3 separate regions of the Homo sapiens genome follow, and regions 1 and 3 are each linked to region 2. The links are contacts of gene promoters, found by promoter capture Hi-C in human tissues and cell types (Jung and others, 2019). All regions are on one chromosome and are shown on one strand. Each heading gives the region's core, a stretch centred on a gene start or on the middle of the fragment in contact. The rest is flanking DNA. Distances are from core to core; before and after follow the strand shown.

The links. The method cuts DNA at HindIII sites, captures the fragments that hold promoters and counts their contacts. A contact is called where the count stands out against the background at its distance.
Region 1: a contact is called between the fragment with the promoter of CBFB here and the fragment with the promoter of CTCF in region 2, in 1 of the 25 tissues and cell types used here (adrenal gland).
Region 3: a contact is called between the fragment with the promoter of CES2 here and the fragment with the promoter of CTCF in region 2, in 1 of the 25 tissues and cell types used here (adrenal gland).

Annotation. Positions count from the first base shown.
Region 1 is chr16:67,027,829-67,031,558 of GRCh38, reverse strand. It overlaps CBFB (core-binding factor subunit beta), which reads right to left and starts at 2,410. Exons shown (of 6, transcript NM_022845.3): 1 at 2,074-2,410; 2 at 1,746-1,832. The coding sequence starts at 2,151. RefSeq lists silencers at 1,628-1,677, 1,928-2,167, 2,258-2,447 and an enhancer at 3,008-3,147. The HindIII fragment of the contact is 10,821 bases long and covers 804-3,730 here.
Region 2 is chr16:67,560,465-67,564,138 of GRCh38, reverse strand. It overlaps CTCF (CCCTC-binding factor), which reads right to left and starts at 1,613. Exons shown (of 12, transcript NM_006565.4): 1 at 1,415-1,613. It overlaps CTCF-DT (CTCF divergent transcript), which reads left to right and starts at 1,830. Exons shown (of 1, transcript NR_158165.1): 1 at 1,830-2,728. LOC124903703 (a long non-coding RNA gene) reads left to right here and starts at 689. Exons shown (of 2, transcript XR_007065094.1): 1 at 689-844. RefSeq lists silencers at 542-641, 1,162-2,171 and enhancers at 395-1,257, 2,402-2,451, 2,472-2,521. The HindIII fragment of the contact is 9,573 bases long and covers 1-3,674 here.
Region 3 is chr16:66,933,319-66,936,839 of GRCh38, reverse strand. It overlaps CES2 (carboxylesterase 2), which reads right to left and starts at 1,324. Exons shown (of 12, transcript NM_001365405.1): 1 at 1,129-1,324. The coding sequence starts at 1,204. CIAO2B (cytosolic iron-sulfur assembly component 2B) reads left to right here and starts at 2,438. Exons shown (of 5, transcript NM_016062.4): 1 at 2,438-2,617; 2 at 2,774-2,853; 3 at 3,101-3,226. The coding sequence starts at 2,476. RefSeq lists enhancers at 1,102-1,714, 2,553-2,752, 2,783-2,832. The HindIII fragment of the contact is 13,939 bases long and covers 1-3,521 here.

The DNA.
Region 1 (3,730 bases), core at 1,161-3,660, 530 kb after region 2:
CAGCCTGGGTAACAGAGCGAGACTCCGTCTCAAAACAAAAAAGCAAACAGTGAGAGTACAAGTACTTTGTAACTTATCTTTTATACTTGCATCCTTTACCTCCAGGAAATTCTATCGTCAGGTATACCACCTTCCCTTTGCAAAAGGTAACCCAGGCAAAGGATGACACGATCATCGCACCAGCTAATGAATTCTTTTATTATACCACTCAGTGCCAAAACCTAAAAGTATGTCTTATGCACTTCAATCATATAAATACTACAATTACTCAAGAAATTTGCAAGTGGGCTAAAAGCTTGAGACTCTCTTTCATAACATGCACTAATGACCAAATATTCAGGAGCTCCTGATAAATTTAACCAGTATCTTCTCACTATTACAACTCTAAAAAGCTTTCACTTAAAATATCAAAATATTCTTTAAAAATAAATTTGAGTTCAGTGATGTAAAGGGAGAATTTTATGACATATGAATTATATCTGAATAAAAATAAACTGGTTTTATAAAGGGGGTGGGAGAAGTAAATTTCCAATGTCTTCCTACTGTTAACCCAAATTCAAATCGCACCTAGCTTCAAGCCTCTAACAATGCAGTGAGTCCAAGTCACCGAGCAGAGAGTAACAGCATTCCATTAGACAGTGCTTCAACTTTTTAAAAAATAATCAGGCCAGACGCAGTGGCTCACGCCTGTAATCCCAGCACTCTGGGAGGTCGAGGAGGGCGGATCACTTGAGGTCAGGAGGCCAGCTTGGCCAACAAGGTGAAACCCCGTCTCTACTAAAAATGCAAAAATTAGCCGGGCGTGGTGGCAGGCACCTGTAATCCTAGCTACTCAGGAGGCTGAGGCAGGAAAATCGCTTGAACCCAGGAGGCGAAGGTTGCAGTGACCCGAGATCGAGCCACTGTACTCCAGCCTGGGCAACAGAGCAAGACTCTACCTCAAAAAAATAGTAATAATCAACCTCTTTTCTTGGTTTCTTCCTACCACTCCCTCCTCATCAGCACCTCCAACAAGGCAAACCAAAAAGATGAGAGGAACTAGGACCCTTGGATTTTTTTTTTCAACCCAAGGTCTGGTGAAGACGCACTAAATCTGCCTCCTAAAACAAGGACCTCGAGATCAACCGTGGGTTTTGCCCATCTGTGCAGTTTTTAGGAACAGCAGCCCTACTCAGGACATGGGGATAATGGTTTCTTTCTGATTCTCCTGAAGCTTAACATTCTAAGAAAATGACATTTTTAGGGCCTTTTCCCCCCCCTCCCCTCTCTATTAGAATAAATAACTGGAGGAAAGATTTCTACTCGGCGATCTGGTAGTGAGACCGCTTGACACAGAGAATTACCGACAGATCTACCTTCTAAGAAACAAACTATCGCCGACCTTGAATGAAGCTCCACTTCTTTTTCCGAATGGGGGTTTGCTTGCTACAAATACCCTGAACCCTTCTTCGGTGTCGCCGCCTAAACAATGCCCTTCGCTTGTTTAGTCTGGCTCGGGTTCGAGCTCCACTCGCGGTGCTCCGTTGGCCGACACGCGCCACCGCGGCGAGCCCCAGGAAAAGCGTCTCCCCGCGAGTACCGGCCCGCGGCATCTGGTTTCGCATTTTGAATCCCGAGTAGGAAGTGAGACGGCGCCCACTCAGTTCCGGGAGCCGCAGCAGCCGCGCCGCCGTCCGGAACCGGCCTGGGCCGCCGCGGCCCCGCGCAACAAGTGACCCGCGCGCGCCCCGGGCCAGCCGACTTACGATTTCCGAGCGGCCGTCGCGGCAGGCGTTCTGGAAGCGTGCCTGGCGTTCCTCGTGGGGCCGGTCCCTGAAGCCCGTGTACTTAATCTGCAAGGCAAGACGGCCCGAAATCAGGAGCCAAATCCGCGGCGCCGCCCGCGCGCCCGCCCTCCCAGCGCAGCGCCGATAAGGGCAAGCAGAGGCTGCGGGCGATGGCCGCCCCGGCGAGATTGCCCCTCCGCGGGCGCACCGACCGGGACTCCCGGGGACCGTGCCGCCCAAACTTTTCTCCGCCCGGGCCCACTCGGGGCGCGCTGCGGCCTCCTAGCCGCCCGCCCGCCTGCCTCACCTCACACTCGCGGCTCAGCTTCCTAAAAAACTCCTCGTTCTCGAACTTGCTTCTCTGGTCGGGCACGACGCGCGGCATCTTCCCGCCCTGAGGCCGCGCCGGCCGGCCGCGCTCGGGGCTTGCGCGGGCACCCGCTGGCTGGCTCCGCGCTGACCGACTGACCGCCCACCCGCGGCGCCCGGACGCCCGCTTCCCTTTGTTTCAGGCGCCCGCCCGCGTGGGCTCCCGTTCCGGGGAGTCTGAGGCGCCGCCGCCCGCTCGAGCCCAACCCACGCCGCCGCCGCCGCCGCCGCCGCCTCAGCCGTTGCCTGCCGCCCGCGCAGCCCCAGCGCTCACCGCCCCCGGCCGCCGCCGCCGCCGCCGCCGCCACTTCCTCTCACCGCCCACCCCGCCCCCGCCGGCCCCACCCCTCCTCCTCGCGCGCCCGCCCGCCTCCAACTCCGGCAAACAAGACGCACCATTCACAACTCCGCGGCCCACGCCGCGCATGCGCCACCCGCCCGCTGGCGGAGCGGCCTGGCTGTGGCGCCCCGGGGCTCCTTCCGCATCAGGGCCCTTTTCCCCCTGCTCGCCCGCGGCCACTCGGCGTGGAGCTGTCGTTGGGGGATCCGCCTGGCCTTTAGCAGACGGGAGTAGCCAGCGCAGGCCTTTTCTACCGCCCTTCCTCGGTCATCTGGAACTTCTGGGTTCCCCAGGTGCGCGGAGTAACCCCAGATTGTCACTTGAACGCGAGGAAACCTAAGTCCTTGGGGACTTTTCGTCCCTAAACCGACCGGCAGGGGTGTAGGCTCTGCACGTTGAAGACTGAGGTGGAAACGGACCAAAGAATCCAACCGAGTCATGGTGGAAAGGTCGTGGCTTTTGGAGTCAGATGGGTCTTAGATGGGATCCCACTCAGCTACACTACCTGCTGGCTGGGGCCTTAGATAAGAATTGGACCACTAAACCTCAGTTTCCTTATTTCCAAAATGCAGACACTCCTAGGTTTGCAGTGTTAGCGTGAGAACCTTTATGTGGGTCTAGCACACAGTGGGAGCCCAATAAATTTAAGTTTCTAAAGAAGAACAAGCTGAGTTAAGAATGTAACCGATTGCCAGTCCATATACTTACTCAATGTGCAATCAGCTGCAAAAAATAAGATCCATAAATTCTAGGGAAGTTGTTTAGCCCAAACTGGAGAAAGTCTGACATGGGATTTATGGCAGAGTTTGATTCAAAGTTAGTCCTGTGGCCGGGCACTGTAGCTCATACCCGTAATCCCAGCCCTCTTTTTTTTTTTTTTTTTTTTTTTTTTTTAAACAGAGCCTCGCTCTGTCGCCCAGGCTGGAGTGCAATGGCGCGATCTCGGCTCACTGCAACCTCCGCCTCCTGGGTTCAAGTGATTCTTCTGCCTCTGTCTCCCGAGTATTTGGAATTACAGGCACCCACCACCACGCCCAGCTAATTTTTTTGTATTTTTAGTAGAGACGGGGTTTCGCCATGTTGGTCAGGCTGGTCTCGAACTCCTGACCTCAGGTGATCTGCCCGCCTCGGCCTCCCAAAGTACTGGGATTACAGGCATGAGCCACTGCGCCTGGCCTAATCCCAGCACTTTGGGAGGCCGAGGCAGGCTGATCACCTGAGATCAGGAGCTCGAGGCCGGTCTGGTCAACATGGC
Region 2 (3,674 bases), core at 364-2,863:
TCCCACCTATGAGGACTTGGTTTTTAACTTTCCTAGTTGATCGAAACTCAAAGTATGAAGACTACGTATGCGAATGTTTACTTAACGCTGAACTCGGGGCTACAGGAAGTCTCCTACTAAACAGTAGTTACATTAGGCGTAGATATTTATAAACCATCTGCAGCAAGTGACCCAGGATTCAATTACAACATCAACCCTCATATTTCATCGCATGGGCAAATTACCAGTCGAGTCAAGAATAAACTCATTCTGCCCTACTGGCGCTCTAGATCGAGTTGCACAATCCTGGGGCAGAACCGCCTTCACCTAGCCCTAGAGCATCAGGTACTAAGTTAGTGTGAGGACATTTTAAAGCGGGAGGGAAACTCAAGGGACTTAGCCCATACTCCCAAATTCAGAAATTTGTCACGTCACTTGAGATCAGAATGAAATTTAAGTTTCAGTCCCTTTGAGATCTCTGAGCGCACAAAGTCAGGCTGCTATCACTCGGCTGGGGAGTCCGAACCCGGCTGGATAAAAACTACTTGGTGCGGAACTCGCATCTTTTCCGCCCACCGTGGGGGGGCCGCACCGGTCGGGTCCGGCCAGGAACCCGGGCGCGAGTTTGGGGGCGCAGCGGGGGCGGCGAGCGCGCGTCCCCCCGCCCGCTCAGGCAGCGTAGAGGTGCGAGCAGCTCAGCCAGCCTTGCAGAGGGAGCTCTCGGCAGCTCTGGGGTCCCTCTGCTCGCAGCCGCTGCAGCGCCGCCTGCGCCACTCGGCGGAGACGGAGACCAGCGGCGGCGACGCGCGGACTGGGAGCGACCGCCGAGCAGCCAAGCAGCTGGGAAGGCACGCAGGCCGGCAGGGTAGGTTCCGGGGACGGGGCTGGCTGGAGGAGGGGCAGCCCGAGACGCGACGGCCAGGGCCCGACACCCATACGGCACCGGGACCTGGCTTAGCGCGCGGCGGCAGTCGGTCCGAACCCTTAAGCTAGGCGGGCGCCGAAGCCGGGACGCGGAGATAGTGTCTCAGCTGGGGCCACCCGCCGCGGGAGGGGCGGAGGACACAGGACAGAGGGCGGGCCGCGGCCGGGCGATCGGCCGGCCAAGAACCGGCCTCGAGGGCAGACAAAGGAAGGAAAATGGAGTCGCCGGGCGCGCGGGCCTCTGCCTCTGCCGCCGCCCGAGGCCTAGCGCGCTGCCAGGAGGGAGGCCTAGCGGGCGGGCGGGCGGGCGGGCGTGGGGGTGGGGGGGGCGGCCGGGCCACGGCGGCGACGGGCAATGGCGGCGGCCGCGCCGCAGCAGGGACGGTAGAGGGAGACAAACACCCCCCGGCGGCGGCGCTGGCGCCGGGCTGCAGCCAGCGCCGACCGGAGCGGCCCCATCGTGACACCTAGAGGCGGCCCGCGAAACCTCCTCCACCCCGGGCCCCCTTACCTCCGCGCCACACCCCCCGCGGCGCCCGCTCCGCCGCCGCTCCACGGCTCCGGCCACCCGGCGTCTCCGGCGAGCTCCGCGCGTCCGCACCGGCCACCGCCGCCGCCGCTGCCGCCAAAGAAGCAGCTCCGCGCACGGTTTAATCGCTCCACAGGCTCAGACACAAAATGGCGGCGGCGCGGTGCAGTGCGCCTGCGTCGGCGCTGCCGGGGCCGCGGGTGCTGATAAGGGAAGGGACGGGTGGGGGGACCGGCCGGGCGGCGAGTAGAGGGCGGGGGAGGAAAGGTGAGGGGAGGGGTTGGCGCAGGGCAGCATGGGAGGCGGCCCCGGGCGCCAACTTTCAAAAGCGGGCGCGATGGCGTCACGGGACGCGCCGCGAGTCGCGTCGTCACGCCGCACGCGCCCTCGCCGGGTCGCTCGTGGGCTCTGCCGGCGCCGCGGCGTCCTGGCTCCCGCTGGGTGGGGCTTCCTGGGCGGAGGCCGCCGCCCCTGGGCGGTGCCGGATCCAGTCCGCTTGACCTTATTCCCTAGCTGCTGTCTCCGGCCCCCTGAACCCGTACAGGGTTGGGGAAGTGGGGGTGGCTGGAGGAAGCGCGCGCGGGGCAAGCCAGTGGGGCTGAGGAGGCTCCCGGGCCCGGCCCCGCCCAGTCTCCGCCCCAGCCAGGCCCGACCCGCCCTCCGAATGTCTTACAGCTGCCCGCCCCAGAGTAAGGCCCGGTCGGTTCCCGCGCGCTCCCAGCTCCGTGCCCGCGAGCGACGACTGGAAGGGCTGTCCTTGCTCAGCGGCTTTTGGTGATCTCTCCGCCCTAGAAGAGGGCCACCTAAAAGCGGGTGCGAGAGGAGAGTGGGAGGGCCTCCTCTTGGTGTCCCCAGGCCACCTCAGCCCGGAGAGGTGGCGGAAAACCAGACTTGATGCTTTAACACGTTCATAGCAATCGCTTTTTACTGAAAGGAGTTTCTGTATTTAGCGCTGTGTAATTCTGTGGAAACGTGCATTTCTTGTCTTTGCGGGAGAGCTGTTCTCTGTGGGCGGAGACCTTCAGTCCCACCCCTCCCCAGGAGGCGCCTGCGGACCCTTCCCAACCTGCAGTCAAGTTGACCAAGAACTGACTGCAAGGTGCTGGTGGCTCTGGGATGAGAGCCTTTTGGTACTTACAGGGAATATGACTCTTCCCTTAGATATCAAATGGACCCAATATCTAGGGAGCAGCTTCTTCTCCATCCATCTGACCGTTCCGTTGTGAGAATGCTGGCCCAATAACATACTCTTTTTTTTTCCCCTAAAGGAATAAAAAAATCTGTATTTTTAAGATGTCAAATCTCCAGAGTTTTTAGATGTTAGCAACTGAATCAGATGTTTTTAAACTTCATGAGCTGATTAAACCACACAGATGAGCTGTCAGTTTACGACCCCTGGCTTGGCTTGGAGGAAAGAGTGAAGAGAAATTCCATGGCCAAATCCTGGGGCACTCCAATATTGGGAGGGTAATGGAGAAGGAGTCTGAAAGGCAGCATCTAGGAAGTCATGAAAGCTAGCGCTGAGTTGTGGAATCCCTGGGCAGAGAAGGTTTCAGGTAGGAGGCATCAGCTGAGCGGTGTGATAAACTTGGGCCAGAGATGTGGCTATTGGATTGGGTCACCTTGCAAGTCACTGGAGAATGTCACTGATGGCCTTGGCTTGATTCACGTGAGTATATCAGGGAGGTGGACCTGACCGGAATGGGTTAAACAGTCACCAGGAAAGTGAGGAAATGGAGACAGCACATGTATGCAATTTGAGAGAGGTTTTGCTGTGAAGGGACCAGATAAGTTTGGGGATAGATATAGAAAGAAATCTTTTAAAAGATAGTAGGGGCCGGGCGCAGTGGCTCACGCCTGTTATCCTAGCACTTTGGGAGGCCAAGGCAGGTGGATCACCTGAGGTCAGGAGTTCGAGACCAGCCTGGCCAATATGGTGAAACCCGGTCTCTACTAAAAATACAAAAATTAGTTGGGCATGGTATCGCGCGCCTGTAATCCAAGCTACTGGGGAGGCTGAGGCAGGAGAATTGCTTGAACCCGGGAGGCAGAGGTTGCAGAGAGCCAAGATTGGGCCACAGCACTCCAGCCTGGGCAACAAAGCGGGACTCCATCTCAAAAAATAATAATAAATAAAATAAAAGATGGTAGGGTTCCCAGAGCATGTTTATGTGCCATTGGGAGGGATATGGTGGGGAAGAAAGATGGGTGATCCAGGAGAGAGGAGGCTTGCTTGACCTAT
Region 3 (3,521 bases), core at 75-2,574, 630 kb after region 2:
GTGAACTCTAGAATGTGGTCAAGGGCAGGCACGGGAGGAAGCCCTGCAGCAGTGCACCATGGGGCGGGGGGAGTATGGACTCCACCTGCGCAAATTAAATTGGGGAAGGGTTGGAAGAGACAGATCATACACTTAGGAGAGTTTCGGGTGAGAGGACCAAAGGCCGAAACACTCCCCCAGCTTCTGATAAGGGCCTGGAGAAGCCTGGCAGGCACACAGAGCCTTCACCTTTGCCCTGGAAGCCAAGTTGTGCCCTTGCCCAGGATGAGGTAAATGGCATGAGGGACACCACGAGCTCTTTGGTTCTTGTTTCTGGAGACAGATTTTTGCTTTTTCACCCAGGCTGGAGTGCAGTAGTGGGATGAAGGCTCACTGCAGCCTCAACCTCCCCTACTAAAGTGATCTCCCACCTCAGCCTCCCAAGTAGCTGGGACTACAGGTCACAGACCACCACAGCCCACTAATTTCTTTCAATTTTTTGTACACTCCGAGTCTCACTATGTTGTCCAGGCTGGCCTCCAACTCCTGGGCACAAGCGATACTCTCCCTTGGCCTTCTAAAGTGGTGGGATTAAAGGAGTGAGCCAATCGCACCCAGCCACTGTGGCCTCTTAGATCTGCTTTAGGATTTGGCGCCTGGGGGCTTCTGTTCCCCAAGGACCACTATCCTTGTCTGAGGCCCCTTTGGAGGGCTCAGGGCATCCCCCCTGGCCAAGGACGCCACACACTGAGAGCCAGATGCTGCCAGAAGCTATTACTGTTATTACCGGCCGGCAGCACCCGCTACAGCCACAATCATAAGAGGGAAATGGACTGAATCCCCACACCCCAATCCCTCACCCACTCCGACCCCAGGCTGCCTACCCGGCCTGGCATGTCCCGGCGCTCCTGGGGCCCCTGTACTCCGCTGGTTCCTTGCCGTGGTGTCCCCCAGCCCGACCCTTTCTGTGCTTCTAGGAGCCCACCTTGGGCGGCGGGGAGGCGTTGCGTGGGGCTCACGAGTTCCACGCTGTCATCTCCACCAGCTCCTACCTCCCAGGCGCCTGCCCTCCCGCACTGTCAGGTTCTGCCTCCGCAGCATTTGGCAGATCTGAGCCCGGTCCCTGTCGCCCCTCCGAGGGAGCCTCACCCTGGCCCCGGACAAGAAGCAGCAGAAGCCCACAGGCCACCGCGCTCAGCCGCGCACGAAGTCTGTGCAGCCGCATGGTCGGCTCGCTGGTCTCGGTTCGCTGCCGGCGGACACGCTGCTGTTCACCCAGAGGCTGCCCCGGGTCTGTCCAGCAGTGGATCAGTGCCTTGCCCAGCCTTGGAGTTTGGACTGGGCAGGGAGTCAGCGGGGTGCGCTGGCTTGGGCCGGGAAAGGTGGGTGTGGTAGGAGAGCGGGACTGAGCAGTCATAGGTGGGTGGGGATCTAGTGGTAGGCAGGCCCGGGCACGGCCACTTTCCTTTGCCCGGGCTCCTTTGGCATCCTCGGAAGGGGCTGTGCCATTCCTGCAGCCCTTCCGCGATCCAGGGAATCCTCTCTTCAAACCTGTCCTTGTCCACAGGCCCGATGAGCGCGCTGGGGGATCGATAGGAGGGGGCAATAAACTAGAATTGGAGACCCCAGGAGGGCTTCTCTGAGGATGTGCACGTTCAGGATCCCCCAGATGGAGAAATGGGAAGGAACTTGATCGGGGTGAAGGAACCGCTTGAGCAAAGGCAGGAAGGAGTGTCGGCGCCCTTCATTCTGGAAGTTCCTCCTTGCTTTCAGGACTCAGTTTCCTGGGTTCCCCTTCACGGCCCCTCATCTCCTTACAGTCCAGGGTCTGAGGGTCTCCGCGGTCCCCTCCCTACTCAGTCACGCCATTCTTTTGAAACGTACACGTGACCGCGGCACTTCTTAAGGAGCGCCCCCCTTTTCCTCGGTGGCTTTCAGTTTCCTCACCTCCCGCGGAGACCACGGCCATGGTCATTTATCCACTTGACAAACATTTCACGAGCCCCTGCCGGTCCAAGCTGTGGGGACGCCGTACTCCCGGGCCTATGGTGCAGCAGGGGAGGCAGGCGCGTCACCGGGAGGTCCCGAGACACTAGGATCCCTGCCAGGCCAGAGGCGACCAACCGTCCTGGATACGGGAGCTCCCGGCCAGCCTGACTTCCAGGAGGAAGCGGTGTGGGGATTACCTCCGACCGCCTTTAGTGCCCCCTGAGACCTGGTTCTGGCCTCTACGTTTCAGCCCGCTACTGGCTCGCACGACCCAGCGCCGCCGTGGTCCCTTCTCAGCGCCTTCTGCTCCAGCGACCATCATGTTCCCGGGTCCGAGCAGCCAGGGCCGCGGTCACCGCTTCTCTCGCACCTCAGGCCGAGAACCCACAACGCGGCGTGTCCCTCGCGCGACTCCGTCGCCACGCCACGCCCCCTTCCCGTTCTCCGGAAGTGCGCGGGTTGGAGCGGAAGCGCACGCCTGCTAGGATCAGCGGTGGTGGTTCCGCGATGGTAGGCGGCGGCGGGGTCGGCGGCGGCCTCCTGGAGAATGCCAACCCCCTCATCTACCAGCGCTCTGGGGAGCGGCCTGTGACGGCAGGCGAGGAGGACGAGCAGGTTCCCGACAGCATCGACGCACGCGAGATCTTCGATATCCGCCGCTGCTGGGCGCGGGCGGGTTCCGGGGGCTTGCGGTGGGGGGAGCAGTGATATCGAGCAGCTGGTGGAGCCGCATCCCAGCAGGGCGTTCCTGGCAGAGGGTTCTAAGTGGGCAAGGGCGCAGAGTCCCTTTTCCTTCACTTCCCACATCTGATTCGCTCCATCAATGACCCGGAGCATCCACTGACGCTAGAGGAGTTGAACGTAGTAGAGCAGGTGCGGGTTCAGGTGAGTCACTTCCGAGGGGAGCGAGTTGTTCCAGAGAGTCAGAAAGGTTTCTGTGCAGCAGGAGCTGGCGTGCTCTATGCTCACGAACACCGAAGGGTATCTTTGGGGAGGGAGATTGTTGTGCCTATTTTATGGGTGTTGAAACTGAGGCCCATAGAAGTTGGATGATTTGCCCAAAACAACAAACTAAGAAGAGGGACCTTGGGCTGAGGGTGGTTGACTCTTGACATCTCTCCTCCACAACCAGGTTAGCGACCCCGAGAGTACAGTGGCTGTGGCTTTCACACCAACCATTCCGCACTGCAGCATGGCCACCCTTATTGGTCTGTCCATCAAGGTCAAGCTTCTGCGCTCCCTTCCTCAGCGTTTCAAGGTCAGTTGGAGCTGAGCCCCGGGAGTGAGACCAGGCATTGAGGGTCTACTGCTGAGGATGGGGACTGGGAGAGCATGAACATGGATAGGACATCAGAGTGGGGCCTGGAAGGATCCCCATTAGCAGAGAGGAAACTGGGAGGAAGCTTTCCAAGTCGATGTGACAAGAATAAAGATCTGAGCTGGAAAGTGGAGAAAAGTATTGAAGAGTGTGGCAGGAAGGGCAGTAGGGAGCGGCAGATGGGTTTGGACCAGGGGTGGGGCACAGGCAGGCCTTTAAATCAACAGTAGTGGGC